Regions from separate parts of the Homo sapiens genome. Here regions 1, 2, 4 and 5 are each linked to region 3. The links are contacts of gene promoters, found by promoter capture Hi-C in human tissues and cell types (Jung and others, 2019). All regions are on one chromosome and are shown on one strand. Each heading gives the region's core, a stretch centred on a gene start or on the middle of the fragment in contact. The rest is flanking DNA. Distances are from core to core; before and after follow the strand shown.

Region 1 (3,192 bases), core at 634-3,133, 220 kb before region 3:
GTGCAAACTCCTACAACAGAAGATTTAATGAAACGGGCTATTTCTTGTAATGTTCCTATCCTGTTTTAAAAAATGTACAGATGAGGATGGATATTTGTACAAGATCTCGATCTCCATGGGATCTTTACTACACCCATAAATAAAACATTTAAAAATGTCCCGTATACATATGTAACAAACCTGCACGTTGTGCACATGTACCCTAAAACTTAAAGTATAATTTAAAAAAAGTCCCATAGTGCCCAACCCCAACACCCTATTGATGAAGGTGCCAAATGATTCCAAATCGAATGGTTCACAGGAGTGGACATATGCTGTCTGTGGTTTTTTTTTTTTGTTTTTTTTTTTTCCCCAGACAGAGTCTCACTCTGTCGCCCAGGCTGGAGTGCAGTGGCGGGATCTCGGCTCACTGCAACCTCCGCCTCCCGGGTTCAAGCAATTCTCCTGCCTCACCCTCCCGAGTAGCTGGGATTACAGGCGTGCGCCACCGCGCCTGGCCCCAACCTGCATTTTCATTGGTTGCAGGGATAAAAGGCAAGTCCCACCAGAAAATCAATGCCAACCAGGAACTGAGGGTGGCGGTGTTCAGTCTGTTCCCAGGGTTTTGAGAACTGGTGCAGTGCCTAACAAGCACACACGTTCCCCTTAGTAAGGAAATACGGTTAAGAATGAAGTAAAAAAAAAATTGTTTTCTTTCAATTTATGTGTCTATATATTTTCATTTTTTATGTTAATAAAGACAAGGTCTCGCTATGTTGCCCAGGCTGATCTCAAACTCCTTAGCTCTACATATTTTCAAATGGCTACTAACTTCTTAGGACATAAGAGCTTAGGTTGTTTAGACCTCACCAGATGAGAATGGAACTGTTAGGTATTTCTTTGGGGGCGCTATGGAAAAAATGACTGAATTACTAAGGTCTGGTGCACCAAGCAAGTCCAGAGCCACCTGCACCAGGGCACAGGGGTTGAGAGCCTGGGCTCTGGAGTCAGAAGACCTAGGTTTGCCACCTCACTTTGCCATCCTTGGGCATTGTGCGACCTCTGCGCCTGTAAAACGGGAATAGTTAACAGTTGTGGGATTAGTGACAAAGCCCATAGAAAACATTCAGACAGGCCGGGCGTGGTGGCGGGCGCCTGTAGTCCCAGCTACTCGGGAGGCTGAGGCAGGAGAATGGCGTGAACCCGGGAGGCGGAGCTTGCAGTGAGCCGAGATCGTGCCACTGCACTCCAGCCTGGGCGACAGAGCGAGACTCCCTCTCAAAAACAAACGAACAAAAACATTCAGACAATCCCTGGCATGTCTTAGCAGGCGATAAATGTTAGTTTTATAAATTTATTTATTTAACCAAAATGGACTCATTCTACATATGTATTTCTATCATTTTTTTCCTTATTATTATCTGGACATTTTTTTCTAGGCAGGCCTGTAAGGATCTTTCTTTCTTTCTCTTGCCTTCCTTCTTTTTTTTCTTTTTTCTTTTTTTTTTTTTTTTTTTTTTTTGAGACAGGGTCTTGCTCTGTCACTCGGGTTGGAGTGCAGTAGCACGATCTCAGCTAACTGCAGCCTCCATCTCCTGGGCTCAAGCTATCTCCTCCCACCTCAGCCTCCTGAATAGCTGGGAACACATGCCACCACGCCCGACTAATTTTTTGTAGAGACAGGGTTTCACCATGTTGCCCAGTCTTTTCTCACTCCTGAGCTCAAGCCATCCTCCTGCCTCAGCCTCCCAAAGTGCTGGAATTATAGGCATGAGCCACTGCGCCTGGGCAACTGTTCTTTCTAATAGCCCCCTAGTCTGCATCCTTCAGGGACTTCTTAAAGTAAAAACGTCCAGCCAGGCGCAGTGGCTCACGCCTGTAATCCCAGCACTTTGGGAGGCCGAGGTGGGTGGATCACGAGGTCAGGAGATCAAGACCACCCTGGCCAATATGGTGAAACCCCGTCTCTACTAAAAATACAAAAATTAGCCGGGCATGGTGACACGTGCCTGTAATCTCAGCTACTCGGAGGCTGAGGCAAGAGAATCACTGGAACCAGGGAGCTGGAGGTTGCAGTGAGCTGAGATTGCACCACTGCACTCCAACCTGGTGACAGAGCGAGACTCCGTCTCAAAAAAAAAAAAAAAAAAAGAAAAAAGAACTCCAAGACTTCAAGGTTCCCCTGAAGCTTGGATGCAAACGTAAAGCCTGACCTATCCTCATTGATAAATAGGCCCTTATTCTCCCTTCCCTTCCATTACTTCCCTCCTTCTCATAGGAAGGCATTCCATTTCTTCATCCTGCCATTTGAGGCCTCTGCCTCTGTGTCCTGCCCTGGCTAAGGCCCCTGCCTCTGTCTCCACCATGCCTTGTGACCCTGGAGAGGTCCCTCAATTCCTTAAGCCACAGGTTCCTCATCTATATAATGGGGATGATAATAATAGAAGCTGCATCCCTGGGCTGCTGTGAGAATTACAGAGTTCAACCCCCAAGGCTATGACGAATCTGCCCGTAGTAAAGAGTGAGGCTGGGGGCGGTGGCTCACCCCTGTAATCCCAGCACTTTGGGAGGCCAAGGCAGGTGGATCACTTGAGATCAGGAGTTCAAGACCAGCCAGGCCAACATGGTGAAACCCCGTCTCTACTAAAAATACAAAAATTAGCCAGGTGTGGTGGCAGGAGCCTGTAATCCCAGCCATTAGGGAGGCCGAGGGCAGAAGAATCGCTTGAGCCCGGGAGGCAAAGGTTGCAGTGAACCGAGATCGCTTCACTGCCCTCCAGCCTGGGTGACAAAGCGAGACTCCTTCTCAAAAACAAACAAACAAAAAACCAAACTGTTCCCCTGAACTTGTTTTTTTGTGGCAGCGGGTGGCAGCTGGGCCTGTCAGATAGAGGCTGATTTGGAATCAAGACATCGGTCTTTTGGGGCAACCGTTCAGATTCTGTGAGTTTGAAACCACAAATGCCAAAGTTTAAATTGGGAGACTGGACCCTGCAGGCACTATTTAAATCCCTTTTTGTGTTACAAATAGTGAACCCCCCCTGCTGCCATCTGCAGGCCACTAAAGTGTCCATTCCACATCTGAGTCCTGGGCGATTCTGAAGTGGGATCCCGAGGACAGAGATACTAATAAGTTGGCTCACGCCTGTAATCGCAGCACTTTGGGAGGCCGAGGCACGCAGATCACGAGGTCAGGAGTTCGAGACCAGCCTG
Region 2 (2,823 bases), core at 157-2,656, 200 kb before region 3:
GACCGCGCCCGGCCAGTACATTCTTTTTTGTTGCTAGGTCATATTCTGTTGCATGAATACATTGCAGTTTGTTTATTCATTCACCTGTCGTCGGCCATCGAGTTGTTTCTAGTTTTTGGTTCTTAGAAATAAAGCTGCTGCCGGGCGCCGTGGCTCACGCCTGTAATCCCAGCACTTTGGGAGGCCGAGACAGGCGGATCACGAGGTCAGGAGATCGAGACCATCCTGACTAACACAGTGAAACCCCGTCTCTACTAAAAATACAAAAAAAATTAGCTGGGCGTGGTGGCGGGCGCCTGTAGTCCCAGCTACTAGGGAGACTGAGGCAGGAGAATGGCGTGAACCCTGGAGGCGGAGCTTGCAGTGAGCTGAGATCGCGCCACTGCACTCCAGCCTGGGTAACAGAGTGAGACTCCGTCTCAAAAAATAAAAAAGAAAAAAAAAAAAAGAAAGCCTGAAGGGCGACTGAAAGTCAGAGGGAACAGCAGGTGAAGAGCTGTGTGCTCTGTGCCCACCTAGGCACATATGCCCACCCCTTCCCTGTTCCCCCCAACTTCCTGCCCCATCAGCCAGGGGTCCCACAGCACCAGAGGGCACATGCAGCTGGGATATACGTATATATATGTTTTTTTCCTTTTTGAGACGGAGTCTTACTCTGTCGCCCAGGCTGGAGTGCAGTAGCATGATCTTGGCTCACTGGAACCTCTGCCTCCCAGCTTTATGCTATTCTCCCACCTCAGCCTCCCGAGTAGCTGGGATTACAGGTGCGCAACACCACGCCCGGCTAATTTTTGTATTTTTAGTTGAGACGGGGTTTCACCATGTTGGCCAGGCTGGTCTCAAACTCCTAGCCTCAAGTGATCCACCTGCCTCAGCCTCCAAAAGTGCTGGGATTACAGGCGTGAACCACTGCACCTGGCCGGAATCACAAGTTATGTGTCGGTCACTCAGAGACTCAGAGACTGCCTTCAGAATCCCTGTTTCTCACCAAGGACTGTTGGGAGGAGGCCTCAGGGTGCTGTCTCCCTGGATCCACCAAGACCTCATTCCTCTTTGTGCTGTGCCAGCCCTCCATGTGGTGGAGCACGTGGGCTCTGGAGCTAGGCTGCCTGGGTTCAAATTCTGGCTCTATCACCCTGTGGCTGTGTGATCTTGGGTCAGTTCCTTCACCTCTCTGAGCCTTGGCTTCCTTCTCTGCAAAATGGCAGTTGTAATGAGACTTAACCTCATGGAGAGGTTGTGAGCAGTTCACGAGACCATGATAGGTATTGGCACAGAACCCAGGGATGGTAAATGCTCACAGTTATTAGAAAAGGCAGAGTGGGCCAGGCATGGTGGCTCATGCCTGTAATCCCAGCACTTTGGGAGGCCAAGGCGGGCAGATCACAAGGTCAGGAGATCGAGACCATCCTGGCTAACATGGTGACACCCTGACTCTACTAAAAATACAAAAAATTAGCCGGGCGTAGTGGCACGCGCCTTTAGTCCCAGCTACTTGGGAGGCTGAGGCAGGAGAATCACTTGAACCTAGGAGGCGGAGGTTGCAGTGAGCCAAGATCGCACCACAACACTCCAGCCTGGGCCACAGAGCGAGACTCCATCTCAAAAAAAAAAAAAAAAAAAAAAGCAGTGTGGTCTAGCTGTTTGTAGACTCAGTTCCGGTTCACATCCTGGCTCTGTTTACAAATCGTGTGGCTCTGTGCCTCAGTTTCCAAATCTGGAGAATGAGATTGTATCAGTCTCATGGTGTTGAGTCTTATGAGGATTAAATTGTTTGTGTAAAATGCTTAGAATAGTGCCTGGTAGATATGATTATTCAATATGCACGAAGATTATTCTCTGCTCTAAGCCCCCACTTAGAACCAGAGCGTGTACTGCAGTTTCAAACAGGCCCTCAGAGTGCCACCCACCTCTGGCTTGTTTCTCAAGGAATCCTGAAGAATTTCTTCTGCCCAGCCGTTTACCAGAGAAATCATGCTCTATGACTCCGATGTCAGCTGGGGCCTCCCAGACTGAGAGAGACCCGAATCAGTGTGAGGAGCACAGAATGTGGTCAGAGGCCTGTTTTCAATTCCTGTTGTGCTTTGCTCTGTAGCCTTAGACAAGTTACTTAGCCTTTCTGAGCTTTACTTTCTTCATCCATAGAATGAGATGATGATCTTAATAATAGTACAGTTTGATAATCTAATCTCTTATCTGGTCTTTTTTTTTTTTTTGAGATGTAGGGGGGTATCACTCTGTCATCCAGGCTGGAGTGCAGTGGTGCAATCACAGTTCACTGCAGCCTTGATCTGCTGGCCTCAAGCGATCCTTCCACCTCAGCCTCCAGAGTAGCTGGGACTACAGGTGCATGCCACCGTGCCTAATTTTTTTTTTTTTTTTTTTAGTTTTTGTAGAGATAGGGGTCTTGCTGTGTTGACCAGGCTGGTTTTGAACTCCTGGCCTCAAGCAATTCTCCCACCTTGGCCTCCCAAAGTACTGGGATTACAGGCGTGACCCACTGCACCTAGCCCACTACAGAAGTATTGATGGGATTATAAGGGCTTCCCGCATCCCCCTGGGAAGTAAATTCTACAATATAAGGTATAGTCACTGTATCATTTTTCTAAAATCCAAAACTCTGAACCACATATACCCCTGAAACCACACCTGGCTGAGGGTTTTTATAAGGGATTGTGGACCTATAGGGCCATAACTCACAGGGTTGGCAGGATATGATGGGTTAATGATATGAAGGAATGTGGCATAGTGCCTGGAACACAAGATAGCTGTTACTGTTTTTGTTTCAGTTAAATTGTTTCACCTTTCACACCAGCCACTGGA
Region 3 (3,040 bases), core at 155-2,654:
CGCCCGGCTGGGCCCAGCGCATGCGGAGGAAGCACCAGCTGCCGGGGCAGTACTGCTGGTGTTGGCCCAGGCCCAGCAGGGGCAGCGCGCAGAAGAGGACGCAGAAGGCGTAGATGGCTGGCAGCGCCAGGCGGGCGCAGCGGGGCCCGTCCAGCTGCGCGTAGAGGTAGGGGTGGCTCAGCGCCAGGCAGCGCTCCACGGCCATGGCAAAGAGGATGAGCATGGACGCCAGGCCGAAGAAGGTCATGGCGAAGGCGAAGGCATCGCACAGGGCGGGGCCGCCTCGGGCCAGGCCCAGCAGGGAGCTGTTGCGCGCATAGGCCACGAACACGGCCGGGCTCAGGAAGCTGGTGCCCAGCAGGTCGGTGGCCGCCAGTCCGGTCACCAGCACCGCGAAGGCCGAGGGGCGCGCCGGTCGCCGTGCGCTCAGGATGCCCAGGGCCAGCCCGTTGCCCACCACACCGGCCACGAACATCAGGGTGCTGGTGGCCGGCCCCACCGAGCCCCGCACGTAGGTGAGGTTCCTGCACGAATCCGCCATCCCAGGTCTGGGCTGGAGGGTTCCCAAGGTGGGGGGTCAGAGGGAGCCAGGGCTACCCCCACCACCCAGCCCACTCAGATGTCCCTGCTGGCCAGTCCTTTTGGCAGCTGGGGCCTCCCAGCCAACCCCCAGTTCTCCTGTGTGTGCGGGTATGCAGTCCTCTCCCCTCTGGCTTCTCCAGTATCTCTCTCTGTCTCTCCCCACCTTCCTGTTTCTCTTTCTCTCTTTCTTTTCTTTCGTTTCTTTTGAGACAGAGTCTCACTCTGTTGTCCAGGATGGAGAGCAATGGCATGATCTCGGCTCACTGCAACCTCCACCTCCTGGGTTCAAGCGATTCTCCTGCCCCAGCCTCTGGAGTAGATGAGATTACAGGCGTCCACTACCACGCCCAGCTAATTTTTGTATTTTCAGTAGAGACGGGGTTCCACCATGTTGGTCAGGCTGGTCTCGAACTCCTGACCTCAGGTGATCCATCCACCTTGGCTTCCCAAAGTGCTGAGATTACAGGTGTGAGCCACCATGCCTGACACCCACCACCCCCCCACCACCTCCTGTTTCTTTCCTTCTCTAGCTCTGTTTCTGCCATTAAAGAGACAGAGAACATCCGGGCATTGCCAGTTCTTTCCCTCCCTGTCTCTCGGTCTCTTGCTGATATCTCCCTGTCTCTGTCCCCTCCCTTGTCCTTGTCCTCCCCGTACCTTTCTCCCTCTAACCCCACACCCTCTACCTGCTCCTGCTCTGTGTTGCTGCATCCCCAGCCCCTCACCGCACCTCTCCAGTCTTGCCCAGGCTCTCCTGTCCCGTGCGTCTGTGCCTTCACTTGCTTTGCTCCTCGTGTCTCTCGCTGCCTGTGTCGGTCTGTGTGTCAGCTTCTCCTTCCCTCCTCCCTCCGTCCCTCCCTCCTTCCCACCCTCCTCAGCTTGCCTGCTCACCCCAGCTTTTTCATTTCCTCTCTCTGCCCCGCCCTCCCTCACTGTTCTCCAGAGGGCCCCCTGGCACACTCCCCACTCCCCGTCCACCCGCCCAATCCAGGACATCCATCTCCCATCGCTGCCTCCACTCTCCTCCCCACATCCTCTCTTGGTTCCCATCACTGAGCCACCTGCCACCTCCCCACACACAGGTCTCCTCCCTCCCCCAGTGTCTCCCTCTCTGGCCTGGGTGGGGAATTCCTGAGTCACCATCACTTAGGCTTGGAGCCTCCCGGGGTAGTAGGGGGCCTCTAGGAGGGACCTGAAGAGCACAGTTGACCAGGCTTCAGTGGGGTGGTCTTGGCCTGGGCTGTCTCAGGGTGGCCTCTGGGATCTATTCTGGGCTCCAGGCCCCGGGGCTGAGGACATTGCCCAGGGATTGAGAAATGACCAGGAAATTCCTCTCTGATGTAGTGTTTTCCAGACACCACTGAGAGTTCTGGTCCCTGGACACAATTCACTCCTTCCAGAAAGCTGAGGAAGGAGGCTTGGCCAGAGAGAGACATGCCAGTCCCTCGAGCCTGTCCCTGGGCACCCAGCTCACCCTGCAGAGACCCGAGAAGAAAGCATGAAGGGGTGTATTTGGTGTCCAGTTGTCAGGGACAGGCTTGGGAGACTTCCATGGCCCATGATGGAAAGGTAGCACTGGGCCACCGTCCGACTTCTCGCACAGCACCCCTAGGCCCCAGGCCAAGCTCTGGTGACCTTGACCTTCAGGAATCATATTTTGATCACAGGAAGCTGTCCACAGCTCCAACATTGCTGCCATGTGTCCCCCACCCTCCCCAAACACAGCCAAGCCACCACCGCTGCAGCCTCGGGCCAGTGTGACAGACCCACATGTTCCCGCTACCCGCACAGCGTTCACGGGTCTCCCTTCCCACGGAGTCGGTGGCTTCCCAGGCAGCCTCCCAGCCCAAAAGGGCCAGATAAAACCTCAGAGACCCTCTCTGAGCCCCGCTGTTTCTCAGGGGGACGGTCTCAGATCCATTCGACTTGGCTTCCTGTTTCCATCTGACCACCTTTTTTCTTGCTGCGAGATGGTCCCAGGTGAGGAGAGGGAGCTGGTAGACTTCAGCCTCCTTCTCTGTGCGTGGGGTAACACGGGCCTCAGGGACCTGGTGGCCAGCCTCGGCCTGCAGCACATCCCAGATTGGTCTTTGTAACAAGGAGAGAGGCTGTGCGGGTGTCTCTTGTCCAAGGCCAGGAGGGATGTGTCCAACCCAAGGACTGGACTGTGGGCAGCTGCCGTCTTGCCCTCTGTACCCCGGTGTGTGACCACAACCCCTTTGCCCCTCCCCCCCATCTCCCTATCACCCTTGCCCAGCTGGCACCCGCAGCTTCCAGCAGGATGGACGCCCAAGTTCCAGCCCCACCGTGGCTCCCTAAGGGACCCCCCAGCCCTGCTCTGGGGGTGCCTGTACATGTGGGCTCCAGGTCCTGCCACGTTGTCCCGCCTCATGCCGTGAGGTCCCCAGACAGACCAGAGGGAACTCAGGAAGTTATATCATATTAATGAAGGATGATG
Region 4 (2,957 bases), core at 323-2,822, 140 kb after region 3:
GAGGTTGCAGTGAGCCAAGATCATGCCACTGCACTCCAGCCTGGGTGACAGAGCGAGACTCTGTCTCAAAAACAAACAAGAAAGAACAGTATTTCCATACTAGTTCAGACCAACTAAATTTTAGCCTTACTTGGAGGTGAAAACCCTGGCCAAAAATCTCTCTCTTGTACGTACAAAGTCCTTTTTGTTTTTAAATAGCCTCGGAATCTTCCAGGAAGTGCAACTACCACAAAAAATGAGGGAAGCTTGTATCGTGTTTTGTTCAAAACTTGGCCAAAGGTTGTCCACCATGTGAAAAAACTCACATTGCACATGGCTCTTGGTAATTGGACACCAGTCCACGTGTTTTCAATGTGTTGGAACTGTCTATATTACAGGCATAAACATCTGCCTACCTCCTTGGGTTCTAGGGGACTGGCTCCACACATCCGCATAATGAAATGCTTATTGTAAGTTACTATGTTCTTATTTCTCCTTTTTATTACATTTAGGGCAATCAAGGATCGTTTTTGTTGCTGCTGCTGTTGTTGTTGTTTCTGAGACAGGGTCTCACTCTGTCACCCAGGCTGCAGTGCAGTGGCACAGTCTTGGCTCACTGCAGCCTCAACTTCCCAGGCTCAGGCGATTCTCCCACCTCAGCCTCCCGAGTAGCTGGGACTACAGATAAGTACTACCACACCCAGCTTTTATATATATATATATATAAATATATTTATATATATAATGTCTCTACTAAAAATACAAAAATTAGCTAGGTGCGGTGTCGCACGCCTGTAATGCCAGCAGTTTGGGAGGCCAAGGCGGATGGATTACTTGAGGTCAGGAGTTCGAGACCAGCCTGGCCAACATGGTGAAACCCCATCTCTACTAAAAATACGTGTGTGTGTGTGTGTGTGTGTGTGTGTGTGTGTATTTTAAGTAGAGATGGGGTTTCACCATGTTGCTCAGGCTGGTCTCAAATTCCTGGACTCGAGTGATCTGCCCACCTTGGCCTCCCAAAGTAGGATTTTCTTAAATCATGTTAAATCATGTGCCAGTGGGTTATACTGTCTATGAACTTCATTTCAGGAGAACAGAGAGAACTTTCCCAGAACTGACATTCAAGCCAGCACACGCCCTGGTATGGCCACGCCAGTGGTTAAGACAGCAAAACACTAAATTATGGATTATTTACTCATTCATAAACGGTCACTGCCATGAACCCCCTGACTATTAGTATCCTCCTAGCTCTCCCTGGGGATCCCCTGGGCTGCCCTCTGGCCCAGAAGTCCAGGGGTTAAACTGGGTATAGTGGGAGATAAGAGGGACCCATATCCCGGATGTTGGATGGACTGATGACTTTGCCAAGCAGTAAATATTTTGTCTATCAGCCCTACATGTTACAAAATATTTGCTATGAACAATAGTGGCATGTAAAGACCTGTCTACATTAGCCAGGTGTGGTGGCTAATGCCTGTAATCCCAACGCTTTGGAAGACCAAGGCTGGAGGATCACATGAGCCCAGGAGGTGGAGGCCACCCAGGGTAATATGTTGAGACCCTGTCTCTACCAAAAAAATTTAGGAGGGGCGAGTGGCTCATGCCTGTAATCCCAGCACTTTGGGAGGCTGAGGCGGGCAGATCACTTGAGGTCAGGAGTTTGAGACCAGCCCAGTCAACATGGTGAAACCACGTCTCTACTAAAAATACAAAAATTAGCCAGGTGTGGCGGCTCACACCTGTAATCCCAGCACTTTGGGAGGCCGAAGAGGGCGGATTACTTGAGGTCAGGAGTTCAAGACCAGCCTGAACAACATGGTGAAACCCCATCCCTACTAAAAATACAAAAATTAGCCGGGCGTGATGGTGGGTGCCTGTAATCCCAGCTACTCAGGAAGCTGAGGCAGGAGAATTGCTTGAACCTGGGAGGTGGAGGTTGCAGTGAGCCGAGATTGCACCACTGCACTCCAGCCTGGGCAACAGAGCAAGATTCTGTCTCAAAAATAAAATAAGGTAAATAAAAAATAAAAAACCTGTCTACAAATGCACCTTTATGCACAATAGCCCCAACCTGGAAACCATCAGATGTAAATCAACAGGTGGGTGGATAAGCAAACTGTGGTACACTCAGACAACATAATACTCCTTAGCAAGTTTTTTAAAAAAGGAAAGAACTGGGCCGGACGTGGTGGCTCACGCCTGTAATCCCAGCACTTTGGGAGGTCGAGGCGGGCCGATCACCTGAGGTCGGGAGTTCAAGACCAGCCTGACCAACATGGCAAAACCCTGTCTCTACTAAAAATACAAAATTAGCTGGGCATGGTGGCACATGCCTGTAATCCCAGCCACTTGGGAGGCCAAGGCAGGAGAATCACTTGAACTCGGGAGGCGGAGGTTGTAGTGAGCCGAGATTGTGCCATTGCACTCCAGTCTGGGCAACAAGAGTGAAACTCCATCTCAAAAAAAAAAAAAGAAAAGAAAAGAAAGAACAAACTACTGATACATGCAAAAATAAGAATAAATCCCAAAAGCATTATGACACATAAAAAAAAGCCAGATGCAAGACGCTACATAGTATATGATTCCACCAATGTAAAATTCTAGAAGAGGTAAAACTAATTCATAGTGACCAAAAGCAGATCAGTGGTTACCGGGGCCTGGAGCTGGAGAGAGGGGCAGACTGCAAAGAAGCATGAGGAAATTTGGGGATGATGAGAATATCATGTATCTTGATTATGGGAGTGGTTTTTCACAGTATATTCATCTGTCAAAACTCATTTAACTGTATTTTATTTATTTATTTATTTATTTTGAGACAGGGTCTCGCAGCATTGCTCAGGCTGGTCTCAAACTCCTGGGCTCAAGCGATCCTTCTGCCTCGGCCTCTCAAAGTGCTGGAATTACAGGCATGAGCCTGGCCTAATTGATTTTAACGGGTGCAATTTATCATATGAAACAATTTTTTTGGAGCCAGCCTT
Region 5 (2,859 bases), core at 105-2,604, 190 kb after region 3:
TATTTATTTTTGAAACAGAGTCTCACTCTGTCGCCCAAGCTAGAGTGCAGTGGCACAATCTCAGCTCACTGCAACCTCCACCTCCCAGTTTCAAGTGATTCTCCTGCCTCAGTCCCCTGAGTAGTTGGGATTGCAGGTGTGCACCACCACACCCGGCTAGTTTTTTCTGTTTTTAGTAGAGACAGGATTTCACCATGTTGGCCAGGCTGGTCTCGAACTCCTGACCTCAGGTGATCTGCCCACCTCGGCCTCCCAAACTGCTAGGATTACAGGCTTAAGCCACCGTACCTGGCCTATTTGTTTTTGGAGATGAGGTCTCGCTATTTTCCTCAGGCTGGACTCAAATTCCTGGGCTCAAGTGATCCTCCCACCTCAGCCTCCCAAAATCCTAGTGTTTACAGGTGTGAGCCCCAGCACTTGACATAAGAGAACTATTTTAAAATTTATTTTTAGAGACAGAGTCTCACCCCATCACCCAGGCTGGAGTGCAGCAGTGTGATCATAGCTCACTGCAGCCTTGAACTCCTGGGCTCAAACAATCCTCTCAACTCAGCCTCCTGAGTAGCTGGGACTACAGGCGTGCACCACCATGCCCAGCTAATTTTTTTGATTTTTTTGTAGAGATGAGGTCTCACTATGTTGCCCAGACTGGTCTTAAACTCCTGGGCTCAAGGGATCCTCCTGCTTCAGCCTCCCACAGTGCTGAGATTACAGGCATGAGCCACTGCACCTGGCCAAGACAATTTTTTGAAAGAGCTCAGTGCTGCAAGAAGAATTCGTCTGCAATCTGAGTGAGGATAAGGAACCTGCCTGATGAGGGACTGAGAAGAGAGAAGCTGGCAAAAGAAATAGCAAGTGCAATGAACCAGACGTGAGAATGAACTTGAAGTGGTCAGGAATCAGATGGAGACCAGGGGCCATGGCTCACACCTGTAATCCCAGCACTTTGGGAGGCCAAGGCGGGTGGATCATCTGAGGTCGGGAGTTCAAGACCAGCCTGGCCAACATAGTGGAACCCCGTCTCTACTAAAAATACAAAAATTAGCTGGGCATGTTGGCGGGCGCCTGTAATCCCAACTACTTGGGAGGCTGAGGCAAAAGAATTGCTTGAACCCAGGAGGTGGAGGTTGTAGTGAGCCGAGATCACGCCACTGCACTCCAGCCTGGGCGACAGAGCGAGATTCTGTCTCAAAATAAATAAATAAACAAAAATGAAAAGAATTAGAAGGAACAGGGTGGCTGGATTCAAGGGATTGTGGGGAAGTGTCATCAGATGTGGCTGAAGAGGTAGGTTGAGATGGGCATCATAGACTCTGTGAAGAACTTAAGAACCTCCTCTTCCAGGAAGCCCTTCTTGACTGCATCAACTAGGTTTTCCCATCCCAGCCCTGTTCCCACTAGGTTGTTGCTCTTGGGGCACTGGCCTATCTGCTCCGCTGGCCTGTGAGCCCTCTGACGGCCAGGCCAGTCACCACTATGTCCTCAGCATCACCTAGCACAGGCCTGAGCACACAGGAGGTGGTCGGTAAATGCCCAGGTCATTCTGGCACTGCCAGCAAGCCCCAAGAAGCATCCCTTGCTCTGCCTCCCCGCCGCGCACCTCTGTTCCTGGGCGTAGCACCAGGGATTCCTGAGTTCCCCGTTTGGCCATTCACACTGGTTTCAGCCTAGCCTCTTTCATCCCATCCTCAAAGGCCCATGTGGGGAGGAGGCCGGGATCCAGCCGCCTCTGATGGGCTGCAGGCCGGAGGTGAAGGCTCTGAAGTGGGCAGATCAAACGCCATGTGGGTTGGGCCGCCGTTGGGGAGGCTGAGAGGAGACGCAGGTTCCCAGGCATGAGTGTGCAGGGTGGAGAACAGGAGAGCCAGGCCAGATGGGGACCAGCAAAGGGGCCCATATGTTCACCCGTCTTTATAATAACACAGCTTCCAATTGTTGATTCATTACGGCCAGGTACAGGGTTAATTTTTTTTTTTTTTTTTTTTTTGAGACAGGGTCTCACTCTGTCACCCAGACTGGAGTGCTGTGGTGACATCATGGCTCACTACAGGCGTGTGCTACCATGCCTGGTTTATTATTTTTAAAAATGTTTTGTAGGCTGGGTATGGTGGCTCAAGCCTGTAATCCCAGCACTTTGGGACGCTGAGGCGGACGGATCACCTGAGGTCAGGAGTTCAAGACCAGCATGGCCAACATGGTGAAACTCCATCTCTACTAAAAATACAATAATTAGCCGGGTGTGGTGGCAGGCACCTGGAGTCTCAGCTACTAGGGAGGTTGAGGCAGAAGAATCGCTTTAACCCAGGAGGCGGAGGCTGCAGTGAGCCAAGATCACGCCACTGCACTCCAGCCTGGGTGACATCACGAGACTCTGTCTCAAAATAGAAAAAAATGTTTTGTAGAAACAGGATCTCACTATGTCACCCAGGCTGGAGTGGAGGCACCGTTGTAGCTCAATCCAGCCTCGAACTGCTGAGCTCAAGTGATCCTCCCACCTCAGCCTCCCAAAGTGCTGAGATTATGGGTATGAGCCACCATGCCCAGCTAAAAGTCAATTCTTTTGATAGAAAGGTCAGAAGAGCAGAGAAGATCAAACAGCTGGTTCATGTGCTGATGGGAATGATCTGGATTTCTAGATTCCAGAAGAGAAGCAAGAGAGGAAAGTGGCTGGATTGTTGTCGTTGAGTAAGCAAGAGGGGAACCATCCCTAGGCTCAAGAGAAGAGGTCTTGAGAAAGAGTATATGGCAGCCAGGCGCGGTGGCTCACACCTGTAATCCAAGTACTTTGGGAGGCCGAGGCGGGCGGATCACGAGGTCAGGAGATCGAGACCATCCTGGCTAACATGGTGAAGCCCTGTC

What was found. Contacts are between HindIII fragments. The study calls those that stand out against the background at their distance.
Region 1: a contact is called between a fragment that was not itself captured here and the fragment with the promoter of PTGIR in region 3, in 1 of the 25 tissues and cell types used here (psoas muscle).
Region 2: a fragment that was not itself captured here is called in contact with the fragment with the promoter of PTGIR in region 3 in 1 of the 25 tissues and cell types used here (dorsolateral prefrontal cortex).
Region 4: a contact is called between a fragment that was not itself captured here and the fragment with the promoter of PTGIR in region 3, in 2 of the 25 tissues and cell types used here (dorsolateral prefrontal cortex and small bowel).
Region 5: a fragment that was not itself captured here is called in contact with the fragment with the promoter of PTGIR in region 3 in 2 of the 25 tissues and cell types used here (dorsolateral prefrontal cortex and lymphoblastoid cells).

The regions. Positions count from the first base shown.
Region 1 is chr19:46,398,801-46,401,992 of GRCh38, forward strand. All of the region lies in intron 1 of PPP5C-AS1 (PPP5C antisense RNA 1), which reads right to left. Among named protein-coding and RNA genes, the nearest start is that of PPP5C-AS1, 3.8 kb to the right of the region's middle. The HindIII fragment of the contact is 5,392 bases long and covers 1-3,192 here.
Region 2 is chr19:46,421,386-46,424,208 of GRCh38, forward strand. No RefSeq gene overlaps it. Among named protein-coding and RNA genes, the nearest start is that of PNMA8C, 6.1 kb to the right of the region's middle. RefSeq lists an enhancer at 2,075-2,124. The HindIII fragment of the contact is 8,713 bases long and covers 1-2,823 here.
Region 3 is chr19:46,623,685-46,626,724 of GRCh38, forward strand. PTGIR (prostaglandin I2 receptor) reads right to left here and starts at 1,405. Exons shown (of 3, transcript NM_000960.4): 1 at 1,313-1,405; 2 at 1-553. The coding sequence starts at 541. RefSeq lists an enhancer at 1,620-2,120. The HindIII fragment of the contact is 28,599 bases long and covers 1-3,040 here.
Region 4 is chr19:46,761,342-46,764,298 of GRCh38, forward strand. No RefSeq gene overlaps it. Among named protein-coding and RNA genes, the nearest start is that of STRN4, 16 kb to the left of the region's middle. RefSeq lists a silencer at 111-405. The HindIII fragment of the contact is 5,780 bases long and covers 1-2,957 here.
Region 5 is chr19:46,814,683-46,817,541 of GRCh38, forward strand. No RefSeq gene overlaps it. Among named protein-coding and RNA genes, the nearest start is that of SNAR-E, 15 kb to the right of the region's middle. The HindIII fragment of the contact is 5,866 bases long and covers 1-2,859 here.